Linked DNA regions of Homo sapiens: regions 2, 3 and 4 are each linked to region 1. Evidence: promoter capture Hi-C in 16 types of primary human blood cells and fetal thymus (Javierre and others, 2016). All regions are on one chromosome and are shown on one strand. Each heading gives the region's core, a stretch centred on a gene start or on the middle of the fragment in contact. The rest is flanking DNA. Distances are from core to core; before and after follow the strand shown. Region 1 holds the start of RAMP1 (receptor activity modifying protein 1). Region 2 holds the start of LOC124908001 (a long non-coding RNA gene). Region 3 overlaps UBE2F (ubiquitin conjugating enzyme E2 F (putative)). Region 4 overlaps LOC124908001 (a long non-coding RNA gene).

The links. Contacts are between HindIII fragments. The CHiCAGO score rates a contact against its expected background, and 5 or more counts as called.
Region 2: a contact is called between a fragment that was not itself captured here and the fragment with the promoter of RAMP1 in region 1, in 1 of 17 cell types (megakaryocytes). The highest score is 6.8, in megakaryocytes.
Region 3: a contact is called between a fragment that was not itself captured here and the fragment with the promoter of RAMP1 in region 1, in 4 of 17 cell types (megakaryocytes, M1 macrophages, M0 macrophages and 1 more). The highest score is 12.9, in megakaryocytes.
Region 4: a fragment that was not itself captured here is called in contact with the fragment with the promoter of RAMP1 in region 1 in 1 of 17 cell types (megakaryocytes); the score reaches 5.7 in megakaryocytes.

What each region holds. Positions count from the first base shown.
Region 1 is chr2:237,858,353-237,861,274 of GRCh38, reverse strand. It overlaps RAMP1 (receptor activity modifying protein 1), which reads right to left and starts at 1,652. Exons shown (of 3, transcript NM_005855.4): 1 at 1,548-1,652. The coding sequence starts at 1,599. RefSeq lists an enhancer at 2,265-2,922. The HindIII fragment of the contact is 3,458 bases long and covers 116-2,922 here.
Region 2 is chr2:237,944,119-237,946,933 of GRCh38, reverse strand. It overlaps LOC124908001 (a long non-coding RNA gene), which reads right to left and starts at 1,472. Exons shown (of 2, transcript XR_007088146.1): 1 at 847-1,472. The HindIII fragment of the contact is 161 bases long and covers 1,454-1,614 here.
Region 3 is chr2:237,977,726-237,980,784 of GRCh38, reverse strand. The region is part of intron 2 of UBE2F (ubiquitin conjugating enzyme E2 F (putative)); the gene reads right to left. The region is part of intron 2 of UBE2F-SCLY (UBE2F-SCLY readthrough (NMD candidate)); the gene reads right to left. Among named protein-coding and RNA genes, the nearest start is that of UBE2F, 12 kb to the right of the region's middle. The HindIII fragment of the contact is 4,484 bases long and covers 1-3,059 here.
Region 4 is chr2:237,959,894-237,963,025 of GRCh38, reverse strand. It overlaps LOC124908001 (a long non-coding RNA gene), which reads right to left. Exons shown (of 2, transcript XR_007088146.1): 2 at 1,115-1,259. Among named protein-coding and RNA genes, the nearest start is that of UBE2F-SCLY, 5.5 kb to the left of the region's middle. The HindIII fragment of the contact is 2,129 bases long and covers 240-2,368 here.

The sequences.
Region 1 (2,922 bases), core at 403-2,902:
AAATAACGTTAAAATTACAGGACTTTGGACTTTCGGCAGAACATGAATAGTTTTCTCGGTAAACAAGGAAGGTCTTTATATGTGATCGTGACATAGTGTTTTATTTACACAAGCTTTAGAGGGTTCAGCCTCTGGACACTAGTAAAGAACGTTTATTTATTTGGTTATTTATGTAAAAAATATTCCACAACCCAGCTCTCTGCCTTGCTAACAAAGAAATGTTTGTTTCTTAGTAAATGAAAACAGTGAAGGCCATGTCAAGCCAAATGGAGAGAATAAAATTACTGCGAGATTCTGCTTTCCACGTAACTTCAGCCAAAACTCTAAAGTGGCAAGATCCGCTTTCAGATTATATTATATCGGCCTCTGAGGATTCTATGCAGATCTGCCACCCCTTGGAGAGGTTTACAAATAGGGAACAGAAATCCATGGCTCCCAAGAAGCCCTGGCCCCTCTCCTCGCTGGGCCACGAACCACTCCCCCAGCTACAACAGCGCCGGTGGTCCCTGCTTGCCCAGTGCCAGCGCCAAAGAGGTCTTGTGCGGCAGGTGCCTCTGACCAACATCACTGTTTCCGGGGAAAGGCCACACATACCAGAAACAACTGCTCCGGCCTTCCCAGGGACACTGGGTTCTCCCACGCCAGTAACCTATTCACAGTTTCCGTTAAAAGGTAGCTAAATACACGGAATAATGCAATAGCCAAAGCGGTTTAGAAGGGGCTTGAGTTAGCATTTTAGGAACACATTACAGACAAGGGAAGTGAACAGCACCGTTTCTTGCCGAGTGTGTGGCCAGTTCCTGTGGCCATGAGGCTGCCGCTAATCTCCACTTCTCCCTCCAAGTGGAAAGCCAAACGTGTTCCACCACTTCACCAAGGGACCCGTCCTTCTTTAAATTTCTATTAGCCAAAAGTGCCAAGTTAACAAGCAAACCAAAAGAAAAAAGAAAAAAAGCGATGGAAGTGTCCCGAAAAGGGCTGGCCTCATTTCTGCAAAAGACGTGATTTGCAAACAAGCAACTGCTGCAGGCGACAGATTGTCAGTGTTGACTAATTTCCATACAAACCGGCTGTGGTTCTGATTCCCGAACACTGCGTCTTCTGCAAGGTGCCCGTCTGCAGGTTTTGCAACGCGGGACGGCCTAGGGAAGGGAGCCTGCGCTGGCAGTCACCGCGGCGCACAGCCTGAGAAACGAGGTGCGGGGCTGGGGAACCCCGCGTCCTGTTTTTCCTTCTGAAAACTAGTTCTCCAGTGTGCAGGGCTGACTCACCCCACGCTTTCCAGAATGCCCGCTCTCCGACGTCCCCAAAGCCGTCCCTTCCCCGGCGAGAAGCGCAACACCGGTCCGCGCCCTCCGCCTCCCCTGTGCCCTGGGGCCTCCCGCCTGGAACCGGGGCGGCCCGCGTTCAAGGGCAGCGGATCTGTGCGCCCGCGGCGCCCGCCCCCACCCGCTCCCACCCGCTCCCACCCGCTCCCCTCCTCTCCCCTAGAGGACACCGGCTGGCCAGGGGAAGGGAGCTCGGCCGGGACCCCTGGACCTACTCACCCAGGAGCAGCCAGAGGCCGCGCCGCGGGAGGCGGCACAGGGCCCGGGCCATGGTGCACAGCGGTGCCGAGTCGAGTCCGCTCGCCACGCGCCCCGCTGAGGACTGAGCCCGCCGCGGCGCGGGCCCGGAGGAGACGCGCCGGGGGCGGGAGCGGGCGCGGGAGCGGTGGGAGGCGGCGGCCGCGCGGCCCGGCCCACTGCGGCTCCCCGCGTGGGTGCCAGGGCCGGGGGCGCCCAGGGCCGGTAAAACTTTGCAGGGGGGCCGCGCGGGCGTCTCCAGGCCCCTCCCGGGGGGCGGCACACTTGGGGTCCCAGGAAGGCCTCCTGAAATGTTCTCCGAGCAAATAAACACTTTTTAAACTAGGGAGGGTCTCCTAGACGACTCAGCGTGAGGGGCACCTTGGTCTCCACCTGGGGATCTTCCCCTCCTCCTCCTCCGAGGTTCTGGGCGTTCCTGCCTGGTGTTTGCCTTGCAAAAGGCTAAGATCTCCCAGCCTTATCTACCTCTCCGCCCAGGTGCAGGCGCTGGGGAGCGTGGGGGGCAAAACTCGCCACCGCGCCTGGCGAGACCCGTAGTAACCCAAAATGGCGCACACTTACCAGGCCCTGGAATGCTGCTCCAGATCTGCAGGATGAGTGGGTGGGCAGAGGCGGGGACAGCACGGCAGGTGAACAGAAGCCGTGGGGCTGGAGGAACAGGGCTCTTTGGGGGGATTGAGATGGCCTGGGAGTCTTGCTGTTGATGGGTAGGTAGCGAGAGCCTGGCAGGAGGTTGTGAGGGCCTGGCCACAGAGTCTTGAGATGAGGTTTGCTTTGGTGGCACTCTGGCAGCTGCATGGAAAACTGATGGGGGATCTTGGGTACATTCGTTTATGTAAAGTGGTGAGAGGAGGGCGCTCTGGAGATGGGCCGGGGAAGCCTGCGGAGGAGCAGGTTTTGGGAGGCACAGGCCTGGCCTCTCGGCATTACTGGTGGCTGGATTTCACTTGCAGTGGTTCCTTCTTGTATTATCCTGTTCCGAGAACTCTTAGCAACAGTAAATTTATACTTGTGCTAAGGAATGCACCACTGCCCTTGGAGGGGGAAGAATCACCACCCTGGTGCTGCGGCCACAGCTGTCTCTTTTGTGGTGGAAGCTGCAAGCGCACAGCATTGCTGAGTGACCATCGTTTTCTCCTAGGAAAGGGAACAGTCTGTGGCTGAGAGGCTGCTGCCACCTGCAGTAAGCTCAGAGAAGGGGAGACAGCTGACAGCGAGGTCATCCACTGGTTCTTCTAACACAGGCTGGGAGGGCACTCAGGGCCAGCATGCCTACCACCTGTGCAGGGGCCCCAAGTGTTCTGAGAGTGAGGGGTGAGATGGTGGGGGAGGGCAC
Region 2 (2,815 bases), core at 285-2,784, 86 kb before region 1:
GTGAAGATGGAGGAAGTGGCCACAAGCCAAGGAACTCGGGCAGCCTCTGGAGGCTGAAAAACACAGGAAACAGATTCCCCTGAAGCCTCCAGAAGGAATGCAGCCCTGGTGACACCTCGATTTTAGATGTTTCACCTCCAGAACTGTAAGATAACAAATGTGTGTTGTTTTCACCAGGTTTGTGGTAATTTGTCACAGCAGCAATTGGAAGCTAATATAGCCATGTGTCCATATCTGCATCTTGAACCCTTTCTTTCTTTCTTTTTCTTTCCTTCTTTCTCTCTTTCTCTTTCTCCTTCCTTCCTTCTTCCTTCCTTCCCTCCTTCCTTTCTCTCACTTTCTTTTTCCTTCCTCCTCCCTCCCTCTCTCCTTCCTTCCTTTCTTCTTTCTTTCTTTCTTTTTTTTCTTCTTTCATCTCTCTGTCTCTCTTTCCTTCCTTCCCTTCCCTTCCCTCCCTCCCTCCCTCCCTTCCTTCTTTCCTTCCTTCCTTCCTTCCTTCCTTCCTTCCTTTCTTCCTTCCTTCCTTCCTTTTCTTTCTTGACAGAGTCTGGCTCTGTCACCCAGGCTGGAGTACAGTGACACATTCTTGGCTCACTGCAACCTCCACCTCCTGGGCTCAAGTGATCCTCCCACTTCAGCTTCCTGAGTAGCTGGACCACAGGCATGTGCCACCACCCCTGGCTTGTTTTTGTATTTTTTGTAGACATGAGTTTTCACCATGTTGCTCAGGCTGGTCTCAAACTCGTCAGCTCAAGCAACCCACTGCCTTGGCCTCCCAAAGTGCTGGAATTACATGCACAAGCCACTATGCCTGGCCTATTAAGGGTTAATTGAACCATTTCTTACCCAAGTGGGATCATATTCTATGTGAGTTTTGTAGCTTGCTCTTCTTATTTTTCCAGCTAACGGCAGGTCTTGAAGGCCTTTTCTGTAAGCGCACGTAGAGCCACGTCACTCCTGTTAAAGGCTGGTGGAGGTGGTGTTGTTCATTACCTTCCTTCTGCTCCCCATGCGTCCAGCCATCTGCAGTCAGGTAGGGCCCTGTGGCTCGCTACGGCTGTTGGGTTGTGGGCAGAAATGATATGACTGGCTCTGATTTACGTGAAAGAGGGAATTAGAAGTCCAGTTTTATCATACAGGCCTAAGAGTCGCACTCAGGCACCCTGTTCCCAGGGGGCATCTGATGGGGAGACACGCAGCAGAGAGAGTTGCAGACAATGCTGGTTGCTATGCCAACATCTACCCTTCCTTTCTTCTCTGTAACAAAGCCTGGCTTGAAGCTGGGTACATCACTTGGTCTCCCTCGATGCTAAGTGTGGCCTTGTGTCTCAGGTCGGGGTGGGAAGGCTGCTCAAATGGGGATGACTCACGCAGGGGGCGCTGCTTTGCCTCCTGCACTCCCTGGGTTCTCCAAAGTGATTTTAAGAAGCAGGCACTTGACAGCCCAGAAGCTTCTCTTCATCCACCGCTTGGCTTAATTGAGGTGGTGGTGGGAGGCCACAAAGGCTGCCCAGCCCCTCGGAACCACTGTCATGTCTTTGGTTCAACCTTCCTTCATCCACGTTGCTCTAGCCAAGAGTCTTTGGTAGCAACAAACAGAGACCCATGCAAGCTTTCTTCCACTAAAACCGGGCAGTCCAGGCAGCAAACTTCAGATTCCAGAAGGCTTCAGGAATGGAAACTTCTCTCTTCTTTGGAGGCCTGCGTCGCTCCACAGCCCTGCCTCTGTCTATTGCTGTCTTACTCTCCATTGTCTCTCAAGCTGCCTCAGGATCCTTAGGTTGTTGCTTTTGCAGTTGGAAACCTCTGTGGCTGGTGGTGCCTTTGCCTGAGTTTTTGCTCAGGCCCACTTGGCTCATTCTGCCCACTTGGCCTGGCAGGCTGCACTCAGCTCGTGCTACTGGCCGGGATCTTACACCTGACAAGGGTGAGCCAGTAGCAAAGTGGAGTGAGTGTGGGGTCCAGCCACTGTGCACAGCCAGGTGAACTGGCTGCTGCTATGGGACAGGCAGCTCCAGGCACTGGCACAGGCACCAACTCTGTGCAAGGCTGCATCTGGATAAGATGTACTGCAGGCGGCTTCCTCTGTGGTTACCTATGTCTGGACGAGGGGAGCATGGTGGTGCCTGGAAGCTTGGCAATACCAGGAACCACAGAGCTCCAAAGAAGGTGTCACAGCCCTGGCTCAGGGACCCCCTATGTCTGGGCTTCCTGAAGGGCCACAGGTCTTCTCTCCTTCTTGTTGCCCACAACACGGTGAGTGGGGGGTTGGGGGGCATGTTTCAGCCCTGTTTGTGTTACAGCTCTTTCAGTCACACCATGTGGTGAGTTCTTGTCCCATGTCCAGGAAGAATGAGGTACGTTGGCAACTGGAGAGTGAGAAAGATGGAGAGGAATTTTAATGAGTGACAGAACAGCTCTCAGGAGACCCAGAGTGGGTAGTTTGTTTCCACAGGGAGGTAGTTCTGATGAATGCAGCCCTCAGCAGAGAGGAGATCCGGAGTGGGTAGCTCCTTTCTGAAGGCAGGGCATCCTGATGAGTGTCCAGCTCTCAATGGAGATGAGACCCAGGGTGGGTAGCTCCTGTCCACAGGCAGGTTGTCCCGACAAGTTGAGGAGACCCAAAGTAGGTCGTCCCTTCCTTCCTGCAGCTGGTAGTCCTGATGTCTGTGGGAGTCTGGGGTTTTTATGGGCTTAGAAGGGAGGAAGTGTGTGCTGACCGTGGGCAGCCATAGGTGGGCCTGGAAAAAGTACCATAAGTTCTCACTCCAGGCTGTGGACTCCATCTGTAACTGACAGCCCAGCCCCTAGGCTT
Region 3 (3,059 bases), core at 547-3,046, 120 kb before region 1:
GTACCTGGCACTGGGGCTGGGCACACATGGGGTGCTCAGGAAAAGGGGGACACATAAGCATACTTGCCTACAGGGTGGCAGTGCCCCTGCTATGAGTTTCCTCTAAGACCCAAGAATGTTTCTTTTCACATAGCTGGGAACTGAGGAGGCATTCCAAAGGCGCTGTGGACTGAATTTATGCCCTCCACCCCCAAATTCATATGTTGAAGCTCTAACCCCCAATGTGATGGTATTTGGAGGTAATTAGGTTTAGATCAGATCATGGAGGTGGAGGCCTCATGATGGGATTCATGCTGTTATTTAAAAAAAACAAAAACAAAAAACAAAGAGGGACCAGAGCTCCCCTTCTCTCCTCCACGTGAAGACACAGCCAGGAAGAGGCCATCTGCAAGCCAGGAAGAGAGCTCTCATCAGGAACTTGAAGGTGGCCTTCCAGCCTCCAGAAGGGAAACACATGCCTATTGTTTAGGCCAAACCATCTATGGTCCTTTGTTACAGCAGCCCAAGCTGACAAAGACAAAAGGCTGGTCACACAGGCAGAGGACTCTTGGCAAAAGCCAGCTCCAAGCCCCATCAGACAACACTAGGCAGAGCTGCTGAGCCCTTCAACCTAGGTAGAGACAGCTGCCACTTTCCAGGTGACCTGATTACTTCCTTAAACCTGAAGCACTGCCTCACAGATTTCTAGAACTAGAACTTTATTTCTTAGCTTCCCACTGCCTTCATGCATTAAAATCCTCAAATCCACCTTTTCTGCATGCCTCACAGCTGGGAGACACTCGACTCACACACAGGGCCTCAGCCCCTCCAGAGAGAGCACCACCAGGGCTGAGGCCTCACACTACAGAGTGCAGGCCCACAGTGCTCATGGTCCCCTCCAGGCTCTGGAGGAGCAAGGCTGTAGCTCTGAAAAGCAGTCACAGCCCCTGTAGCAGAGCCTGGTATCACTAAGAATGGAGCCCACAGGTCTCCTACCACTTACTTTGAACACAAATGCAGATGATGTCAACTTGAGCCCTCATCTATGCTTACACAGGGTCCTCCCTGCCCAGTGGGCTATGTGGTACACCTGAGGGGCTGCCAAGTTTCCCGGGGCAGCTCCACTGGCATTTAACCCTCCAACAAAGCATCTAAAGGTCAGCCTGTGGCCAACTGCCTTACATCCTCCCCTTGGGCCACTGCTCTAGTTTTTAAAATATGTATTGTAGCACAGAACCTCCCAGCGGCACACACTGCTAAATGCTGTGACTACCCTGACAATGTGGCATGCCACACCCTGAGCCCGCCCTGCTAGACTTCCGCGCCAGGACACGCTGGAGACAGTGGTTCCAGAAAATAGTAAATGCTTCTCTTTCTCCCCCAACACTGAAATGGGGACATGTTGCAGACCTCATATAGGAAGGTGAGGGGTCCCACCTGTGACTGGACTGCTCAGGCAGACACAGGCACCCTCACAGAGAGAGGCCCCTGCATCCTAGACACTGGGAAGCTCAGGCAGATGGGCAGCCAGACCCTCCCACTGCCCCAGCTCCCATCAGCCAAAACAAGAGAAGGTTAGAAACCACCTGGGACTCAGGGGCTGATTGGGACAAGGGGTACGCACAGAATCAACCCCCTTTAGCTCCCCTAACTCCAGACTTGACCCTGAAATGGCTCAATTCCAAATCCCCACATTTAACAAAGACTGACACAGGCAAAGGGTCCTGTCAGACCTCCTGGAGACCCTTGAGGTCTTTGGGGGTCACTAACTGTATGCTGGCACTACAATGCATGTTGGGTGAACAAGTGAAAGAACAGGGAGACAGACAGGCATTGAGCTATTAGATGGAAACAGTGCCAAACTTCAGACAGGTAAGAAAGCAATTAATTCTGCCCTGAGGGGTGTTTGGGGGGTAGGGAGCACCATGGACTCAGACCCTGATGGACTCAGTCACACAGAGGTTCACAGGGAATGCCAACAACAACACTGGCAATGGCCAGCCCTCCAGTCAGGCCTGGACCCAAGTCAGGGCCAGCTCAAATGCAGATCTGACTCTCTCTCCTCAGTGACCCCAGCTTCTGGAGTCAGGAGAGACAGCAGCCCAAAACACTCATCATTCTACACCCTCCAGGCAATGCAGCTACAAGCATCACTCCAGCTCCAGCCCAGAGGGTGCCCTCAGAACTGGACTGAGGATGCTGAGGAAATGTGGGTGTGGCTGAGCGGGGAGCCCTTGCGGCCATCTGGAGGCCTCCCCATGGCCGGCCACTCCAAAGCAGGCCACATGTTTCCAGAGACCTGGAATCGAGCCAGGAGAGCTGACTCTGGCCTCCCATCACTGTTCAGAACTGGGCTCACTCTTCCAAGAAAAAGAAGGGGCCTCTGTTGTGCAGATACCACTGGCCCTTCCTCGCACCCCTCCCCAGGGACAAGCTCCTGCCTCCTATAAGCTCAGCCCTACTGCCATCTGCACCACATCAGAGCCCACATCACAGGTGAGCAAGGCAATGAGCCAGGCGCTGTGATGCAGCAGCACCCAGATCCCCTCAGTGAGGGCTGTGGGCAGGCAGCCTTCAGCAATCAGCCCTTTCAGGGATTTGGTGGCTGCACAGACCTGCACTCCACACCACACCTGTCCCAGGCAACCCTCATCTAACGAATGACAGTTGCAGAGCAGGAAAACCTGACTATCTCACCAGACTGGGGACAGCTCTGAAGGGCTGTGCTTGTGCTTGCGCTTGCTCTTGCTCCAAAGCAGAGGCTGTCGTGGGGCCTTCCTTGCTGCTTGAGTCTCCCTCTGCCTGCTGTTGCTTCCCTCGCCTACCCCACAGGTATTGTCCCAAAGGTACCCCTTAGTAAGGATCCTGCATGACAAACTCCCTACCTCCTCTTCAGGAAACCCAGCCTATGGCATGAAGTCCCAGACATATTGATACAAATTTCTACCACCTATGGATGCTTGTGAATAACACCCTTACACAAGCCACAGTACCCGATGACAGTTCTGACTATAGTAATCTTTCTGAACTCCAACACTCTACTTTTCTCAAAGTCCCAAAAGGGAGTTTGGATTTCACCT
Region 4 (3,132 bases), core at 55-2,554, 100 kb before region 1:
AACCATAAAGAGCTTGTCATTTCTTTGCTTTATGCATATCTATATATGTTCCAGTGCAGCTGCTCTGACTTGACCTGGCATGCCTGGACAGGGTTAAGGCAGCCCGGGACCATAGTGCCTGCCATAGCTTATTTGGAAACCCTCCTGACCCTCTCATGACTAGCTTCCTCTTTCCTTTGTCCTCTTTCCTCTTTACCTATTTAGAAAAGTTTCAAGCTGTTAGCCAATCAGGTCAAGCTTAGAATGTGAGGTCCCATTCTGGCCAATGGAAATGGGACACAGCCATAGGACGATTGCATCAGGTTACAAAGATTATAAATGTCCCCATCTCCTTTGTTCAGGTGTGCTCTCATGGCAAGACTGCTAGCGAGCGGCACCCTTTCTGCAGAAACTAAACTAGCCTTGCTGAGAGATCCTTTGTCTCAGTGTTGATTTTGCCACACCGAACTCCCATTTCCAACAATGGCAGAGCTAGGATTTAAAGCCAGGCAGTCTGACTCTGAGATTTGCCCTCAGCCAGCACACCTTGAGGCAGCTGATACAAAGAACTTGAGGTAAGCTCTGGGAAGCTGGAGATGGTGCCATGAGTGTATTGCCTGCAGGCCTGTCACCTGAGTCCTGGCCTCTGTGGGCTGGCCTTGCCCTACCAGGTGCCTCCAGGGAGCTAGGGCCTGGGCTCAGACATCTCCACAATCCAGGACATAAAGGGGGCTGGTGCCCCTAACTGTAACTTTCATGTTCTCTGGGAGGGACTGGCTCTGCTTCAGTCACAGAACCACTGTGTGTGTGTGTGGGAGTGGGGTGGAAGTTCAACTGTGAGCCTCACAGAGGAGTGTTGTTGCCCAAGGAAGGGCAGGGGGAGACAATGTCCTCGCATCCCTTCCTCCCTCACCCCTGTAAGTTCAACCCCAGAGGCTTCCAGCTAGGATGTGGAAGGGGAGATGGCCTGGGCTATCTATATTTTCAGCCTGGTCCAGGGCTGGCAGCACTCTGGCCTGGGCTGGTGCAGGGACCTGGGAACCTGTGGGGTGAGGGAAGGGTCTCCCAGGCAGGAAAAGTGGCCTCTGCCAGCATCTTATTCTGCTTAGGCTGCCATAAAATACCACAGACTGGGTGGCTTACACAACAGATGTTTATTTTCTCACAGTCTGGAGGCTGGGTAGTTCAAGATCAAGGTCTGGCAAGGTAGGGTTCGTTCTGAGGCCTCCTCTTGCTTGTAAGCAGCCGCCATCTGGCTGTGCTCACACGGCCTCTGTGTGCTGGGGCAGAGAGAGAGAGAGTGGGCACGCAAGCATGAGAGCTCTCTGTTGTCTCCTTATAAGGATTCGAATCCTGCCAGGTCAGGGCCCCAGGTTAGGGCCTCATTTAACCTTAATTGCTTTCATAGAGGCCCCATCTCCAAATACAGCACACTGTGGGTTAGGGCATCAACATATGAATTTTGGAGAAACAAACATTGTGTCCCTTGCTTCCAGGAAAGCCCTGGAGGGGCATCCACTGCATTTAGCCGTCCACTCCACTCTTCCCTCCTGCCCTCACTGTGGGTGGGGCACACTCCATTCATTCCCCACTGGGGTAGGCATTCCTGGCTCCGGGCTTCAGTGGAAGATTGGCCTCCAGAGGTACGATCTGCAGTCTGGGTGAGCTGGCATCACCAAGCCCAGTGGGTCCAGTGCTCATGCCCCTTCCTCCAGACACAGTGTCCTTACCCCAGGCAAGACCTTAGCCATGTTCCAGGTGCAAGCCCTTGTTGTGTGAATTGGGAAACAGCCCAGGGGATGCTGAACTCCCGTGGGAGTAGACATGGGAGAAAGGGTGCAACACAGCCCTTGGCCAGCCCTTGCTCCACTTGTTTTGTGTTGTTCTAGATTACTCCCAGGTGTGCATCTGCCCTCCGGCTTCATCTGGTGTTCCTGGGGAGCAAGGCCCAGGACACTCAAGTGCAGGCCTGGACACATACAGGCCCCATGTCCCTGTGGAGCCTTCTCAAATCTACTTCAATCCAAATCAGGCACTATATAATAAGTACCTGTCAAGGGCTGAGTGTCGTTGGGGACAGACCCTGCCCTCCAAAAGCCTCAGCTAATGGGAGAAACTAGCATTTAGTAAACCACCACAGAATAGGGGCAGGGATACAACTGTGGCCGCTAAGGTTTGTTCCAGACAGGGGGGAACAAAGCCTCCACTGACCCACATGAGTTTAGGGATCACTGGGGAAAGGAGGGAGAGAGAACTGTGCTGACGGTAAGCCTTGCCTTAGAATTCAACTGAGGAAGCTGAAAATAAATGCCAAAAATCCCATGTCCCACTAGCTCATTCTCTTGCTAAAAGGGGAGACAGGTAAATGGTGTTTCTGTTAGGAAAAGCTTTATTGGGCCTTTTGGGGCCTGGGGTCTAACCTGGAGAGGAGGACAAAGATGAGACTACAAAGCAGCCGGAGGTGGTGTGGAGTGCTGTGAGGCTGTCTGAGGGGCAGAAGCTGAGAGGTGACACCCAAGTCCCAGTTCTGGGGTCCTCCGTGGCATGAGGGAGGGATGAACTTCCCATAGCTGGGGCAGATGGGGGCTCAGATTATCATCGTTATTATTATTTAGTAAGGGGTCATCCAGGAAGCAGACAATTGAAAATTCTAAGTAGTATAATTTTAATTACATAACTGGTATAATTAAGTTTTGCTTTTGCAACTGGCCTCCAGGGAATACAGCTTGTTTCTTTTTATTTCTTAAAAAAAAATAATACAGTGGGCTGTGATGGCTTTGTTGGAGAGGGACTGAGTCAGAGTGGTGTTTTAAATCTGATGATAGGATTGAGATCGTCATCATTCACCTACAGCAACAATGGGCTCCTTTTAATAAGGTCTGTGCATGGGGACTGGAATAGGGACATGGTAGTCCTGTGGTTCTTCCTCCTTCCTGGCTGCCCATCAAGTGACCCCAGAACTGGCAAAGCCCTACAGGACCATCAAATGTGAGAGAAGCCACCTTCCTCTGGGGGCTTTTTGGTTTTACTTTCTTGCAGAAATGGATTTAAGTTGTCTGCCTTTGTCACACTGTCTCCCATTTTGTATTGCATGTTCTTTTGGATTAGTCACTAACCAAGGTTAGTTCAAGTTTTCAGGGGTTTTATTTTATT